Regions from separate parts of the Homo sapiens genome. Here regions 2, 3 and 4 are each linked to region 1. Evidence: promoter capture Hi-C in 16 types of primary human blood cells and fetal thymus (Javierre and others, 2016). All regions are on one chromosome and are shown on one strand. The core of a region is centred on a gene start or on the middle of the fragment in contact, and the rest is flanking DNA. Distances in the headings are between cores, read along the strand shown. Region 1 holds the start of GPR151 (G protein-coupled receptor 151). Region 2 overlaps STK32A-AS1 (STK32A antisense RNA 1). Region 3 overlaps STK32A-AS1 (STK32A antisense RNA 1). Region 4 has its middle 76 kb from the start of STK32A-AS1.

Region 1 (3,738 bases), core at 599-3,098:
CAAGTGAACTACCTTCCTTGTAGTCTACAATCTGCAAAACATCACTCTGCTCCCTCCCCCATTTTCTTCCCTGTAAGACGTTGCGGGCCTCTTCACACCCAAAAGTGATGCTTGTTGAGACTCAAGGATATTTCATCCTTAAGTAGTTACTGGGAGTTACTGTGCCTTGCTGGAATAAGGTGTTGCCCCAATTTACTGTTCTATAGGAACAACTACTTCCCAGAGGTAAAAGGAAGGAAAGCAAAAGGAAATAGAAATGGAAACAAAGGAACCCAGCACCACTGACCACTGTCCCAATAGCTATACTGATCACTACTTATTTATTTTCTAGGACACTGAAGAATTTTAAAACGTCAGACCCTTCTTTACTTGCGAAAAACGTGAAAGCACAGTACCAGAATCCAGAGATCTGAATGCAGCAGCATACTCTCCTGTATATCATGCTTTAGCTTTTCTGACTAGCCACACTCAATGTAGCATGTATCTTCATATCAACCCCACAAACCCCATTCTCTGAACATTTTGAGCTCCTCTAATCCCCCCAGAGTATCCATTGCTTATTTTAAAATTTCAGGGCTAGTTCTACCAAATCATCTTATCTGAGAATTTTTTTATTTCTAGAGACAGAGGATCACTCTGTCACTCAGGTTGGAGTGCAGCAGCACAGTCATAGCTCACTGCAACCTCGAACTCCTGGGCTTAAGCAACCCTCTCACCTCAGTCTCTTAAGTAGCTAGGACTACAGGTGTACACCATCATGGCTGACTTTTTTTTTTTTCTTTTTTTTTTTTTTCTTGTTTGTTTGGTAGAGGTGGGGGCAGGGGTCTCACTTTGTTGCCCAGGCTGGTCTCGAACTTCTGGCCTTAAGCAATCCTCCCGCCTCCACCTCCCCAAATTCTGGGATTACAGGCATGAGCCAGTGTGCCCAGCACAAAATCTTTACCAACTTTAAAATATAATTTAAAAAAATCTCTTAAATGCCTTCCACATAGATATTGATTTTTCTTTCATTTCTCTTGTCTTGGTAAATCCTCTAGGAATGCTCTCTGAAAAGCAGCTTAATTCATCATGCAGTTGCCTTCATCACCATCACTTGTTGAAAAGTCTTATTAGTATGTAAAGCAGTTCTAATTTGGAGCTGTAAAATTGCTTCTAAAAACTCGTAATAGAATAAACTGAGAGTCATCCATAATTAGATTTTTTTAATAGGACTTCTAACTTGTTTTCATTATCCAGCTGTGTTTGAACTCAGCCAGCTGTTGATGGAACTGAGGTGGTTGTAAGGGTTGGGGAAAAGAAGAGGAAGCTCATCTCTGCAGAGTGGGTAGGGGAAGCTTTAGTTCTCAGTTTAAAACAGTGGTTCTCAAAGTGTGGTCTCCCAACCTGCAGCATCAGAGTCTCATGGGAACTTGTTAGAAATGATTTCTTGGGCCCTACTCCAGACCCACTGGATCCGGCCATCAGGTGAAGTTCAAAGAACTTGGTTCAGATGTAGTGTTCACTAAATTACAGACAGCAGTCAAGATTTTAGGAAGAGCTGGTTGAAAATAATTGCCTTGACTGGCTCTAGTGACCCCCCAAGGAACACATGCCACTTACATGTATGTTCTCTTCATTCATCATTTATGGGTATATTTGTATTACTCCACAGGGCTGACGATTTGGTATTAGACTTGCTAATGAGCAGCAGCCATGTGCTCCTGCTATCTGACAGTCGGTACAGTCACAAGTATATTGTATGCAGCAGAGAAGAGCTTAACAGCCAGCCTCCTTCCACATTCTGCTCTCAGGAAATAAGCAAGGGGAGGATCCAGAAGTGTCATTTGACACTGACGACAGAGTACTTATTTCCTATGCAAAAGAGCCCAGGCAGAAAGACAAACCTAAATAAGAATCTAACTTCTGTAAGAAGCTGTGAAGAGTGATGCTGGCAGCTGCCTTTGCAGACTCTAACTCCAGCAGCATGAATGTGTCCTTTGCTCACCTCCACTTTGCCGGAGGGTACCTGCCCTCTGATTCCCAGGACTGGAGAACCATCATCCCGGCTCTCTTGGTGGCTGTCTGCCTGGTGGGCTTCGTGGGAAACCTGTGTGTGATTGGCATCCTCCTTCACAATGCTTGGAAAGGAAAGCCATCCATGATCCACTCCCTGATTCTGAATCTCAGCCTGGCTGATCTCTCCCTCCTGCTGTTTTCTGCACCTATCCGAGCTACGGCGTACTCCAAAAGTGTTTGGGATCTAGGCTGGTTTGTCTGCAAGTCCTCTGACTGGTTTATCCACACATGCATGGCAGCCAAGAGCCTGACAATCGTTGTGGTGGCCAAAGTATGCTTCATGTATGCAAGTGACCCAGCCAAGCAAGTGAGTATCCACAACTACACCATCTGGTCAGTGCTGGTGGCCATCTGGACTGTGGCTAGCCTGTTACCCCTGCCGGAATGGTTCTTTAGCACCATCAGGCATCATGAAGGTGTGGAAATGTGCCTCGTGGATGTACCAGCTGTGGCTGAAGAGTTTATGTCGATGTTTGGTAAGCTCTACCCACTCCTGGCATTTGGCCTTCCATTATTTTTTGCCAGCTTTTATTTCTGGAGAGCTTATGACCAATGTAAAAAACGAGGAACTAAGACTCAAAATCTTAGAAACCAGATACGCTCAAAGCAAGTCACAGTGATGCTGCTGAGCATTGCCATCATCTCTGCTCTCTTGTGGCTCCCCGAATGGGTAGCTTGGCTGTGGGTATGGCATCTGAAGGCTGCAGGCCCGGCCCCACCACAAGGTTTCATAGCCCTGTCTCAAGTCTTGATGTTTTCCATCTCTTCAGCAAATCCTCTCATTTTTCTTGTGATGTCGGAAGAGTTCAGGGAAGGCTTGAAAGGTGTATGGAAATGGATGATAACCAAAAAACCTCCAACTGTCTCAGAGTCTCAGGAAACACCAGCTGGCAACTCAGAGGGTCTTCCTGACAAGGTTCCATCTCCAGAATCCCCAGCATCCATACCAGAAAAAGAGAAACCCAGCTCTCCCTCCTCTGGCAAAGGGAAAACTGAGAAGGCAGAGATTCCCATCCTTCCTGACGTAGAGCAGTTTTGGCATGAGAGGGACACAGTCCCTTCTGTACAGGACAATGACCCTATCCCCTGGGAACATGAAGATCAAGAGACAGGGGAAGGTGTTAAATAGATTTAAGTTTCAAAGCAAAACAAACTGTGATTATTGTATTTACTTGTACTGCTGCTTATCAATATTGCTGACTTTACAAACTGATATAATTATTACCATTAGGAATTATAAAAATATTTCACAATCTACACTTTCCAAATGTGCAATGTGGTAAGTAGAGAACCATGTTAGAAGTAATAATTGTTTCAGAATTAGAACTTGGCTTCCCAAACAATTTAAGTGTTGTGTAAAGATGTTGCTGTCAAAGTGATTAGACAGCCTGGCTATTCTGTCATTTGTTCACAGTGGTTTTACTGGGTACCCCCTAGGACCAGCCCTGTAGTGGACCGGCTGGAGCCTGCAGTAGAGGTTCTGTCAAAGCTGAGCCCCTTTACCTTCAGTTTCACCCAGGACCTGCTAGTCCTAATTTTACCTACTAAATTGTATTTCACATAACCAAAGCTCAAAATCTACTTTCACTTGAGATTTTTAACACATTAATGATAAATTTTAATGCGTTCTTCATTTACTTAATAAGTGTTAATTTACTTGATGAAAAGTCCGTATCATAATGT
Region 2 (3,738 bases), core at 519-3,018, 700 kb before region 1:
GTGTCGCCTGAAATGATCCTCATGGTAAGCACTGCACCTGTGGGGATGTCATTAGCTCATACCTAGAATCTGACTTTCCATCTGTAAAATAAAGCTAGACTCTGTAGTTTCCCCAGACCCTTCTAGTGCTGCTATTCTATGACCATGGAACATATCTTATGACCTATGCTCAAGGTGACTGTCTTGGTTTGCCCAAGATTGAGAGATTGAGAGAGTTATCAAGATGCGGACTTTTCAGTCTGGGAAAACCTGGATTGCTAGTCCCCTACTACAACATCTGATGTGTTATCTATATTTTGGACACAACCATTTACTGATTTCTTAAACTTCTTTGGGGTTCTTTTGTTTCTCAAAGTCTTAAAGAACTGGGACACAGAATAGTAAGACTTTGTGTTTCTTAGATCAACTGTTGAATATCTGGAACATAGGGGAGATTATTTTGAAGGGACCTGCATTTTCCTACCTGGACATGTTATGCTCAAGTTGTTGGGATGGTTTCCCCTTTCCTTTCCTTATACTTGAAAACAGTTGGCTGGTTTGTTTTGTTAAATTTGCCGTTGCACTGATAGTTGAGGAATGCTTAGTGACAAGAATATAGCATTTGTAATCCATTTGAAACTTTCTCCACTGATGAAAGGGAATGGTTGTGTAGTAATAATAAATTCATTTCTTTAAAAAACACTTTACATGTACTAACTGAATCCTGAAACAGCTGTAATTCCAGGTAGCTATTATTGTCCATACTTTAAAGGTAATAAAACTGAGACTCAGGTAAATTGTAATTTATTGAAGTTAACAAATCTAAACTGGCATTTGAACTGTGGTGCCCCTAAATCAGAGTCCCTGTTTTTCCCGTGCAAATGGTTACTTCTATGGTTCAAACAGCTAACATTTCTAGTTTATTGGAATATGAGTACTGCTTATGGTCCTAAAGATTTCAGGTGAACATACACTTAGATGTCTGGCATTTTGCTTTCAATTCCTGACTTTCTTCCCATACACAATAATCGGATCATTTCTTCAACAGATATGAAACAAGTGCTTTACTTATTGCTGTATTTTTCCCCAACTTTGAAAGTACCTGCTTTTTGGGACAAAGTTTTACTTCCAGTTCTTGTTAAACAAAGATGCGTCTTTATCGCTAAAATAAAAACACAATGACAGTTATAAAATTTCCATGGATCTGGATAGTCCAGGCAACAAGAAAGAACATGTCAATGAAGGCACAGCATTTAACAGAGTGTACATATGAAACTACGATTTTAAATAATATGAACTACAATATGTGTCTATTTACATCCAGTATATTAGAAAATTTATAACTTATTTTTAAGTATAAAAAGTATGCAGATCTTACTTTTTTCATAATTAATATGCATTGACATTCTTTTGCAGTCTCTAAACAAAACTACAAAATTATGGGACTATTACAAATATTTATTGCTTGTCTACTATGTGAATTTAATCCGCACAGAAACCTATGAAGTAAATAATTTATCCCATATACTAATGCAGAATGTAGAGTTCACCAAGGTTAAATTGTACGATTAAGAAACGTAGGAGATGGTATTGAGGACCATACTGAAACCTGGGTTAATCTGACACCATTAGGGTATGTTATATTAGAATTATTCCAGAAATTTCTCTATTTTTGAATTGTTTTGGATGCTCTATTGTATATTAGAGTAGATCTAATTAACTCAAGCAAGTTTACCACTTGTGGCCTTATTTAAATTATGCAACACATTGGTAATCTAGATTCTATAATAGACGTTTTTATGTGACTTTCACCATCCAAGCTATCCATATGCAACTAATTAGGAGTTTGAAAAATGTCTGAATTATTAACTCGATTTTCCTATTTTTATTTGTGTTTTAGGCATTCTGTAAATGTGGTCTATTTCCAACTTCTATCATTATTGAAAGCCATCTTTCTTCCAACCATAGAAAGTTAGATGAACTTTTCTGCAGAAGACATTGTTTATCTTAATTAATTATGTGATTTTAATATTTTCTTCTTTCTAAACACTTAATATGTTTATTCTCCTGCTCAATTGTTGTTTTCTTCTCGCTTAGTTGTTTTTTTCCAGTAATAGGAACTGAAAGTTACCCAAATATTAATGAGAGTTAGAGAAATTGCAAATTATGTATCAACTAATGATAACTATGTTTCTTTATATATATGGAGTTATTAACAGCTCCAAAACTTTCGAACACAAGAAAAGGTTTGAAAAGGTTTTAGAATGTAAATAGGTTCCAACCTAGTTAAATGTGAACTCATATTGACAGTTGATATTAAATAAGCAATTTCCATTTTGCATATATCAGACTTAATCAGAAGCACAGTGATTAAGTTTGCATTATTTGTTGAATCAAAGACTTGTAAAAGCATGAGTAAGCATATGATTAAGCTATTTAAAAAAGAATTATTATCCTAATATTAAACATAAATATCAAAAATTATACTTTGACTTAGAGCATTTTTCCTAAAGATTCTTTCTACCATCCCTGTGAGGGAAGCAGGGACTTATTTCAGCTTATGAAATAGAAGAGTATGGAAGTTACGTTAGTTGTTTTTGTAAATGTAAAAATACTTTAATCAGTAAACTGAACAATTTGAAAAATAGAACACAATGCATCTTTCCCAAGCAGAGTATTTGTTGAATTTACATCTTAACTGGGTTATGAAATACTGACAAATTTCATGTTGAATTTACATTTCACAGTAGCTCTAACATGAAACCTGTAACATTTATGTCAGATTATCTTTATGGTCCCCCGTAAAGGCCTGGTTCCTTTTTATTTTTATGTTTGGAACTTCTTTCTTATAAAACATTTTATAACAAAATAATAAAAATGTTATAATGAAATTCACATTTTAGAAGGGTACCATTGGATGACTTTTTGACAAATATTCATGTTATTTCACTTGCTTTTGCCTCATAATCCTTAAACCTCTGTGTTAAACAACATTTCTTTTGACCTGGCATTCAATCCACAATTTTCTCACCATACTCTGGTTTCAACTTTTTCTGTAAAGAATCAATTAGTAAATATTTTAGGTTTCCGGGACATATGGTGTCTGATACAACTACTTAACTCTGCCATTATAGTGGGAAAATAGCCATAGAGAAAATGAAAGTAAATGAGCATGACTGTTTTCCAATAAAGTATTATTTATGGACACTCAAATTTTAACTTTATATTTCTATGTCATGAAATAGTATTCTTTGGATTTTTCCAATGTTTTAAAAATGTAAAATTCATTTTTAGCTCCAAGGCTATACAAAAACTGATGGCAGCATAGATTTGATCAGCAGGCCTTGGTTTGTTGATCTCTGCTATAAAAGATAATAAAATCACAGAATTTCAGAAAAAGGTCTGGAGAGTATCTCATCTAATGTATTTTTTTTTTTTTTTTTTTTTTAGCCATAAAGGTGACTGAAGCTCAAAAATAAAGGACCTAAGTGGTTTAAAAAATGTCATATGGCATGTCAGAGCATCTGTCCTGGTCAGCTGGTAGTGGTTGCCTGGAGGATTGTGTTGGGATAGGACTATGAAGTCCAATCTGAGTCTCATGGGATGAAAGTCATGTTGTGATTGATTGAAGATGTCTGCTTAGTATGCTACAATGGAACCATACCAAGGGAGTATTTAATGTTTGCAAATTCACATTTTTGTGCTCTGCTAAGGAACAGATTGGTGGATAGGAAGGATCTGAGAAACAGAAATCAAGAT
Region 3 (3,738 bases), core at 876-3,375, 660 kb before region 1:
ATGTTTTCATGATCATTGAGTTTTTTTAATGGGTGGTGCATGTGTGTGTTAGTATATATTTTATGTATATAAGTATATAAGTTTATAAGTATACAAGTATGCTTATATTTTAAACATCTTTCAATGATAGTATAAGCTTTTTCTCTTTAAAATTTATTATTACAAATACAATTATTCTGGACATACAAAAAGATACCAAGAGCTGTATAACAAACATGAGGTATCCACCACCATTTAAGAACAAATGTCATGACCAATCCCGTTGAATCTCTTCTCTGACTTGCAAAAGTAACTACAAATCTAATTTTGGCATTTATCATTTTTGTCAGGTATATATGCTTTTACTACAAATTTATGTTAGCTTAAGTATTTTTAGGATTTCCTCACTTGTTTTTGAAATTTTATGTAAATATTGTCATATAGTAGTTTTCCTGTAGTTTGCTTTTTCCCCCTCAATGTGATTTTTTTCCAGATTCATCTATATTGATCCCTACAGTTTTGGTTATTTTTAATGCAGTATAACATTCCATTTTATAAATATTTGTCACAAATTATTTGTCCACCCATCAGAGGATGAACATATGGAAATAACTTTGTATTCCAAGAAATGGCATTGCAGGGTTATAGGGTATAAATAGTCTCAGCTTCATTAACTTTATATGTTGGCAAATAGTTCCCCAAAGAAATGTATCAATTCTTCCCCGAAGAATTGTATCATTTCATACCATCAACATGTAAAATATCTTATTTCTTCAAATTCTAAGTCTTTTAAATATTTCTGCCTATCATACAAGTGTGAAATGTTTTTGGTTGCAGTATTCATGATCACTTTTAAGACTACTGGTGAGATTGAACACATTTCATTTGTGCTTTTTCTGTTCAAATTTCTTGTATGTGTTTCATATAACAATGTTTCAAATGTATTACTACTTATTTATTGGCATTTAGAAAACATATGTGCATGTGGGATACACACACACAGGTGTATAGGAGAATTAGATCCACGAAAATCAGGTGTTACAAAGAGTTAGGTACAAAACTATGAAGAAAGTAGAGAAGGATTGACCTGATACAATAGGCTTGTGGAGAGGCGACTGGTTGATAAAACCTGGGGAACAGTGATCTAAATAACAGATAAAGAACAAACAACTAGACGTCACTCTTATTTAAGCCAGAGAAAGAAAGTAAAAAAAAAAATCTTAAACTTTTTTTTAAACAGTTAAATGGAGTATCCATTTAGAATTTGTCAGGTGCAAAGCTATCACGAGAAGTTATTACATTCTTTCAGTAAAAGGCTTACTTATGGATAATGACGACCTTTGTTTGAATAACACTTCAACATTTGGAAACTCTTTGGCTGTATAATCTAAATCTGCCATGAGGCAAACATGACACAATTAGCCTATAAGAGACGGTTAATGTGTGAAGCAGGGAGGTAAGACTTGGTTTTTGCCTTCAAGGAGTTCATAGCCTGCTGATAGAGACAGAGGCACAAAGTTTTATAATTATAAAGGTACTTTTGGAATGTGGTGTTGCAGAGAAAGGGACCAATGCTACTATGTGGTGGGGAGAGGGAAGCTTTGCAGGGGGTGTGTGTCTCATAGGGTGAGTAATGCTTGGGAGATAGAAGAAAAAAAGGACATTCCAGACAGAGAAGCACATTCCTAAAGGCAAAAAAAAAAAAATGTTGAAGTGATGGGAACATATTCGAAGAACAATAGAAAATGATTGTGGCTGCAAATTACTTGACATTTCTCTTGTTCAGAGGTGCAGTCTGTGTCCCCGTCCTTGACTCTGAGAATCCCTGTGATCAACAGAATGCAGAAAAGTGACACTGCATGGCTTCTGAGGCTAGGTCCAGAAAAGGTGATGCAGCTTCCCCCTTTGCGCTGAAATGCAGTGCTTGGACCTCAGAGCTATTGACTAAGAAGTCCATGCACCCTGAGCTTCTCATGCTGGGGAAGCCACGTGTAGGCATTCAGTTCCCAGCCCAGCTGAGCTCCATCCTGGCTGCAACAATTGTTCTCATGAGGAAGCCATCTTGGACACTCAGCTCCATGGAGCCTCCACGAGTCGCCAGCCCCAACTGACATCTGTCTCACTGCAACCACAGAAGAGCCTCCAACCAAGAACTGCACAGCTGAACCCTTTCTAAATTCTTGATCTCCAAAAAGCCATGCACAAAATAAAATGGTTGTTTTGAGCCACTAAACTCTGGAACCTCGAGTAGGGGAGAAGTTCCTTTGGGTAGGTGTCATTTTCCTAGGCTACCATTCATTTTCTCTTATTTTGGTGATAGCAGTCTGATTTATGTGTGTGGGTGGGTCGGGGGTAACCCTGATCTTAAGTCATGTAGTTCAGGTGCCTCCTGGATGTGCCTGCCTAACCATCATATCCCCACTACGGTACGGTGTTTGTAAAGAGTTGAGCAAATAATCCAGGACAGACCACTGAGATTCTGCCTTGTGACTTTTGTTAAAATTAGTGAGAAAAAGTCACTCTCGGGGCAGGCTGGAGTAAAGAGGGATTGCTAAATAGATGCTAGGTAGGCCTGAAACTGCTGGGGGCCAATTTATTATGAAGCAGGAAGAACCTAATAAGGAATAAAGTTACTCTGGAGGAAAGCCAAGCAAAGGAGGGTGAGAGACAGCTTCCTGATGAGACTAAGCTTTGGACCCAGTTTTGCCTGGAACTTCGGCAGGCTGTTTTAGTTTCGTAAGTTAATACGTACTCCTTTTTGATTAAGCTATTTCAGAGGTGTCACTTGCATCTGAAAGATTCCTAATACAGACAGGTAAGATCAGGTCATGGAGGGCTTTGTGCCCTGTGATGGTAAAGTTTTACTTTATTCTGTAAAGAATGAGAACTATATTTTAATCAGGAGCAGGATGATGAGATGTACACTTTAGCAAGACACCTGAATGCACTGAGAAGGGATATTTTGGTGTTAGGAACAGGGAAATGGACTAGGAGTATATAGTGTTAGTTTAGGACATTATGATGCCAACTAATATAGCTGGTGGGATTGGATATGCAATTTGAGAAATATTTAAATCATGGAATCAACACAATTCAGACAGGTTGGGTGGTGTTGGGATAAGGAAGAGAGAAGAAGCAAGGATGACTTTTAGATGGATGGCTTATATACAAGCTGGACTATGTATCACTAAAGAGAATATTAGCTCCAGTTTATGTCTGATGACTCAGAAGTTAAACAACCTGCCCAAGGTTGTGTACCTAGTAAGAGCAGAACCAATCAGGTCTTTAGGCTCCAAGACTTTCATTCTTTGAATTGTATCAGGCCACTCACTGTGTTGAGGCCGCCATGTGCACTGCATTCCCAAGAAATCATAGCACATGGGGCTGCTTGTTGTTCAGCACATCAGGAGGAAGGCAAAATTATTAATGCTTTCTTTTGGTCTCCTTGCTGTGTCTGACTTGCTACCAAACAAAACCTCTGCAGCAGGGCATTTGTACTATTCAGGTTTTCTTGGCTGACTTATCAGCATTTGTGAAAAGTACAGACGATTTTGTTCCAGCCTTTCTGCATTCTGACTTCAGAAGCTGATTACAGATGCAGAAACATGAAGGGAGGTGAAATCTATTTCCCAAGATGGACTATGGATTGGTTCTAAAGATCAAAAGGGTGTGGCTTTTCAATACAAACAACAAAGTCTGGGAGTTTTTGCACAGTGGAAGAGAAAGGCAAGTAGTAAGGGTGGCAAAGTGCTCATTAGG
Region 4 (3,738 bases), core at 843-3,342, 640 kb before region 1:
CCCAGCCCAGAAAATTCTGATTCAGTAGGTTCGTGGAAGGGCTCAACAATTTGCATTTCTAATAAGCTGTCAGATGATGCTAATGCTGCTGGTCCTAGATCATAATTTGAGTATGGCTCTTGCATGTATTATGACAAGAAGAGTTGAAGGGCTTGTAGAAATCAATTCTGGATTATGGATTTATGATGAGGGTTTTTTAATGAGATGTAACTATTCTGAAGGTATGAATGAAATGTATGCACACATCAAAATTTGCAATATATCGCTTTATATGCTGGAGTAATTTAAGGTAAACTATAAGTCATATGATAGCAGAAAACTGCAGAGAGGAAAAATGAAGGTAAACAGAAATAATCCCAGCAGGGATCTCCAGAAAAATGGTGACATTGAACTTCCATTTTTAAGCTTGCACAATGAACAGATGATAAAGTCTACAACCCTTAAAAGGTTGGGAATCAAATAGGAAATCCCAACTCCTGGGATCCCCAAAGGGCTGTATCTTCAAACTAAGGGGAAATGAGAAATCAACTCAGTGTTTGGATGAAACAGTACTGAATGAAGGGGAAAAAAAGAATATATAAACATTTTCTTGAGATTTTCATAACTCCAAGTTAGTCCTTATGTGGGTTTGTGGCCAAATTTATATTTCTTGTAATGTATAAAACATCTCCAAAGAAGAATTTGATAAAAGAGATCTCCTAAATCAGTACTATACTATAGTACTATACAGGTAATATACCCAGAGAGGAAACGCAGTTTTTCTCTAAAGGAATGCAACCTCAAGTCAAACCCTCCCCAAATTCCTGCAGATAAATTTGCAAGGAATATGAACTCACAAACACATGAATATGTACATGCACACATATCTCTACATACATGAAATATACATGGAAATAGGGCAATGTGAAAAACAAGGGCAAAATAATACTTGCAAAAACATATTTTGGAATTAGTAAGGCCAGTAAAACATTTGTAATATGTTTAAAGAAAAGGTCATTTAATGAATCATCTTTGTATTTCCCAAATACTTGCATATAATGATTACTCAAGCCATATTAGTTGACTGAATAAAAAGCCCAGATAACTGCTTCTTTAATGAAGAGCATCAAAATAGTTATTTATGTTCTCCCAGCAACAAATAGTTGACATCAAGGAGCATATTACTCCTGAAAGTTATTAGGCTGGTAATCTTATACCCTCTTCGAGCCTGGTAGAGCAGCTCTTCCCACTAAAAGGATTATTTTTTCACAAAGTTAAATATTGAAGGGAAGTTCTGAAGGAGCTGATCTCTTTGTTAGTCTTGGGCACACATCTATTAATCTGAAAGACTTCCCTTAGAACTTTGACATAAGCTGCTAAGTCACTTGGTAGTGGAGGAGCAGGAATGGATGGCTGCCCAGGCATACAAGAAATCCAAAACTTTGATTGTTAGAAATAATACATATTTCCCCTAAAACTGAATTTAGAAATAGACTACACTTGGGATTCATAGACATCTAGGGGAAACGTTACTGGGCTTCAGGGGCCTGTGTACTTATGAAACAAAAATTTACACATTTTGGGAGAGAAGATTCTGAAATTTTTTTAGATTTGCAAAGTTTCCTGAGTCCATGATCCCAGAAAATGTTACAGAAAGATTTCTTTCTATATTTTCCCATTTAATAAACAGGGAAACTGGGGACCAGAGAGCTAAAAAGATTTGTCCAGTATCTCAAGTTCACACATGCATGTCTGTGCTCAGAATGCCAGTCATGCCCCAGGAGAAAAGTTTATCCATGCAAAAATTTTGTCTTCAGTTAAGGCACCAAAGAGTGGGTTATGAGTATTTCCTGCAATGACAGCTCTCTTGAGAACATCTCTGAAGCTTCCCAACTTCCTCAATAATTTGCCGTTTTAGAACATATTTGTAAGAACACATTAATTTCCTCATACTTTGCAAGGATGCTATTGTACAAATGCAGGATTTCTCCATTATGCTTAGAGTGTTCTACTTCAGGCATCCAAACCAGCACCTGGGCTAGATCCTAAATGTCTATCGCCCAGCAAATACATACATCTTTTGTCAATGTTTGCACAGAAAACCAAAACCAGGGTTTGGCTTTGACAGTTTCTCAGAGTTGATCAGAAATCTCTAAAACTCATATCGAGCCTGTTGAGAATAAAGAGTTGTCTTCCCCAGAAAGATATAATCAATTAGCATTCCAGACACCTTACAAACTAAGTTTTCCACAGGTCTATTTGCAAGTGTGCTTTGGTAGAAGAGCACAAACTGGGTTTGCCACTTACTAGCAATGGGGCCTCAGAAGGTCACTTAAGCTTCCTAAGCCTCAGTTTCTCATTAGTTAAATGAAATTGAATCACATTTAAAGTATATTGGGTATGATTTTATGTAAACCTAAGCATTGGAAAAGGTCCTTATTTCATCGAATATCTGCTGAAAAATTGCTTTGCCATTAGAGGTCATGTTCTATGAAAAATGGGTATTTCATGTGTGGTTCTCCCACTAAGAACTTAAAATTGAAATTGTAAAAATCAAACAGGCATAATCCATGATGCAAGTAATGGTACTGCTTATCTCACTGGGTTGTTGTGAGGGGTGAATAGGTTACAATGACTGAGCCTCCCCTAAGGCTGGGACTGAGTTCTAGTCATTTTTATATCCAGGCTCTACAAATTACCCCTTGTGTGATATTGGCTAATTTATTAAACTTCTAGCCATATGTTTTATGGTCTATAAAATAGAAACAGTAATAGTAGTAATCTTACAGTCATGATGATTAAATCATTAAATGGCATATCCTTAGAACACTGGTAAGTTTTTAATAAATATTAATTTTATCATAACCATCATCACTCACGCATAATGCCTATTATCAGGCTTCATATTTATAGATGACCAATGGTATTTTAAAATTAATTAATATTGAACAGCCAGGTTGGCACATAATAGGTGCCCAGTAAACTCATTTTGAATGAGTGAATGGGCTAATTTCAGTGTTTGTCACATGGTAGGTGTTTGAAAACCAAATGGGTTTTCTAATGGCCCTACCTTCTCCTTGCCCTACCTTTGCTATCTAATCCTCACTCAGAGGAGCCAGTGACAGAAGAGGCTCCTGGAAATCCCAGGCCAACTCTTCTCTCAGACCTGCCTTAATCAGTGAGAAAACTTTTGGCAAAATGAAAGGGTGCAGCTGCTGGAAATAGAGAAGGAGGTCATGATGCATGACTCCACAAAGGAAAGGGAATATATCCCTTTGGTGTTGGCAGCTGCAAACCTGAGATGACAGACGCTGGCCAATTTCCATCCTCAAACATAGTCAGACCTCTTTGGATTCCCTAGGCACATTTTGGTGAGCTAAAGATGGAGGGGCTCTTCCTAAACCCCAACCTCCCAGACACTCTCTCATGAGTGGGAGAAAGGGACTTAATGATTCCCTGATTACCTACAGCCTCCCTTGGTAGCTGGGTAAACTCTGGCAAGCTACTTCAAAATCTATGTGCTTCATTCATCTCTGAATTGGGAATAAAAGTAGTGCCTGCCTCACAGCATTGCTGTGATGAAATGTGTTAACATGTAATGTGCTGAGAACAGTGCCTGAGTTACAGTATCTGGTAATGCTAGGAGCAATGAATGCTGGTTATTACGAATTACTGTTCTGCTCGGGACACAGGATCTTTGAGCATAGTGTGGGAACAGATGGGGATCCACAGTTTCTTACTATGGAATGCTGGGATCTT

The links. The method cuts DNA at HindIII sites, captures the fragments that hold promoters and counts their contacts. A CHiCAGO score of 5 or more calls a contact.
Region 2: a contact is called between a fragment that was not itself captured here and the fragment with the promoter of GPR151 in region 1, in 1 of 17 cell types (total CD8 T cells). The highest score is 5.1, in total CD8 T cells.
Region 3: a contact is called between a fragment that was not itself captured here and the fragment with the promoter of GPR151 in region 1, in 1 of 17 cell types (M2 macrophages). The highest score is 5.6, in M2 macrophages.
Region 4: a contact is called between a fragment that was not itself captured here and the fragment with the promoter of GPR151 in region 1, in 1 of 17 cell types (total CD4 T cells). The highest score is 5.2, in total CD4 T cells.

Annotation. Positions count from the first base shown.
Region 1 is chr5:146,514,300-146,518,037 of GRCh38, reverse strand. GPR151 (G protein-coupled receptor 151) reads left to right here and starts at 1,848. Exons shown (of 1, transcript NM_194251.3): 1 at 1,848-3,738. The coding sequence starts at 1,925. The coding sequence ends at 3,184. The HindIII fragment of the contact is 3,538 bases long and covers 1,337-3,738 here.
Region 2 is chr5:147,209,969-147,213,706 of GRCh38, reverse strand. All of the region lies in intron 1 of STK32A-AS1 (STK32A antisense RNA 1), which reads left to right. Among named protein-coding and RNA genes, the nearest start is that of STK32A-AS1, 23 kb to the left of the region's middle. The HindIII fragment of the contact is 6,668 bases long and covers 1-3,738 here.
Region 3 is chr5:147,175,517-147,179,254 of GRCh38, reverse strand. It overlaps STK32A-AS1 (STK32A antisense RNA 1), which reads left to right. Exons shown (of 4, transcript NR_147190.1): 4 at 1,766-2,220. Among named protein-coding and RNA genes, the nearest start is that of STK32A-AS1, 57 kb to the left of the region's middle. The HindIII fragment of the contact is 1,090 bases long and covers 1,581-2,670 here.
Region 4 is chr5:147,157,345-147,161,082 of GRCh38, reverse strand. No RefSeq gene overlaps it. Among named protein-coding and RNA genes, the nearest start is that of STK32A-AS1, 76 kb to the left of the region's middle. The HindIII fragment of the contact is 452 bases long and covers 1,867-2,318 here.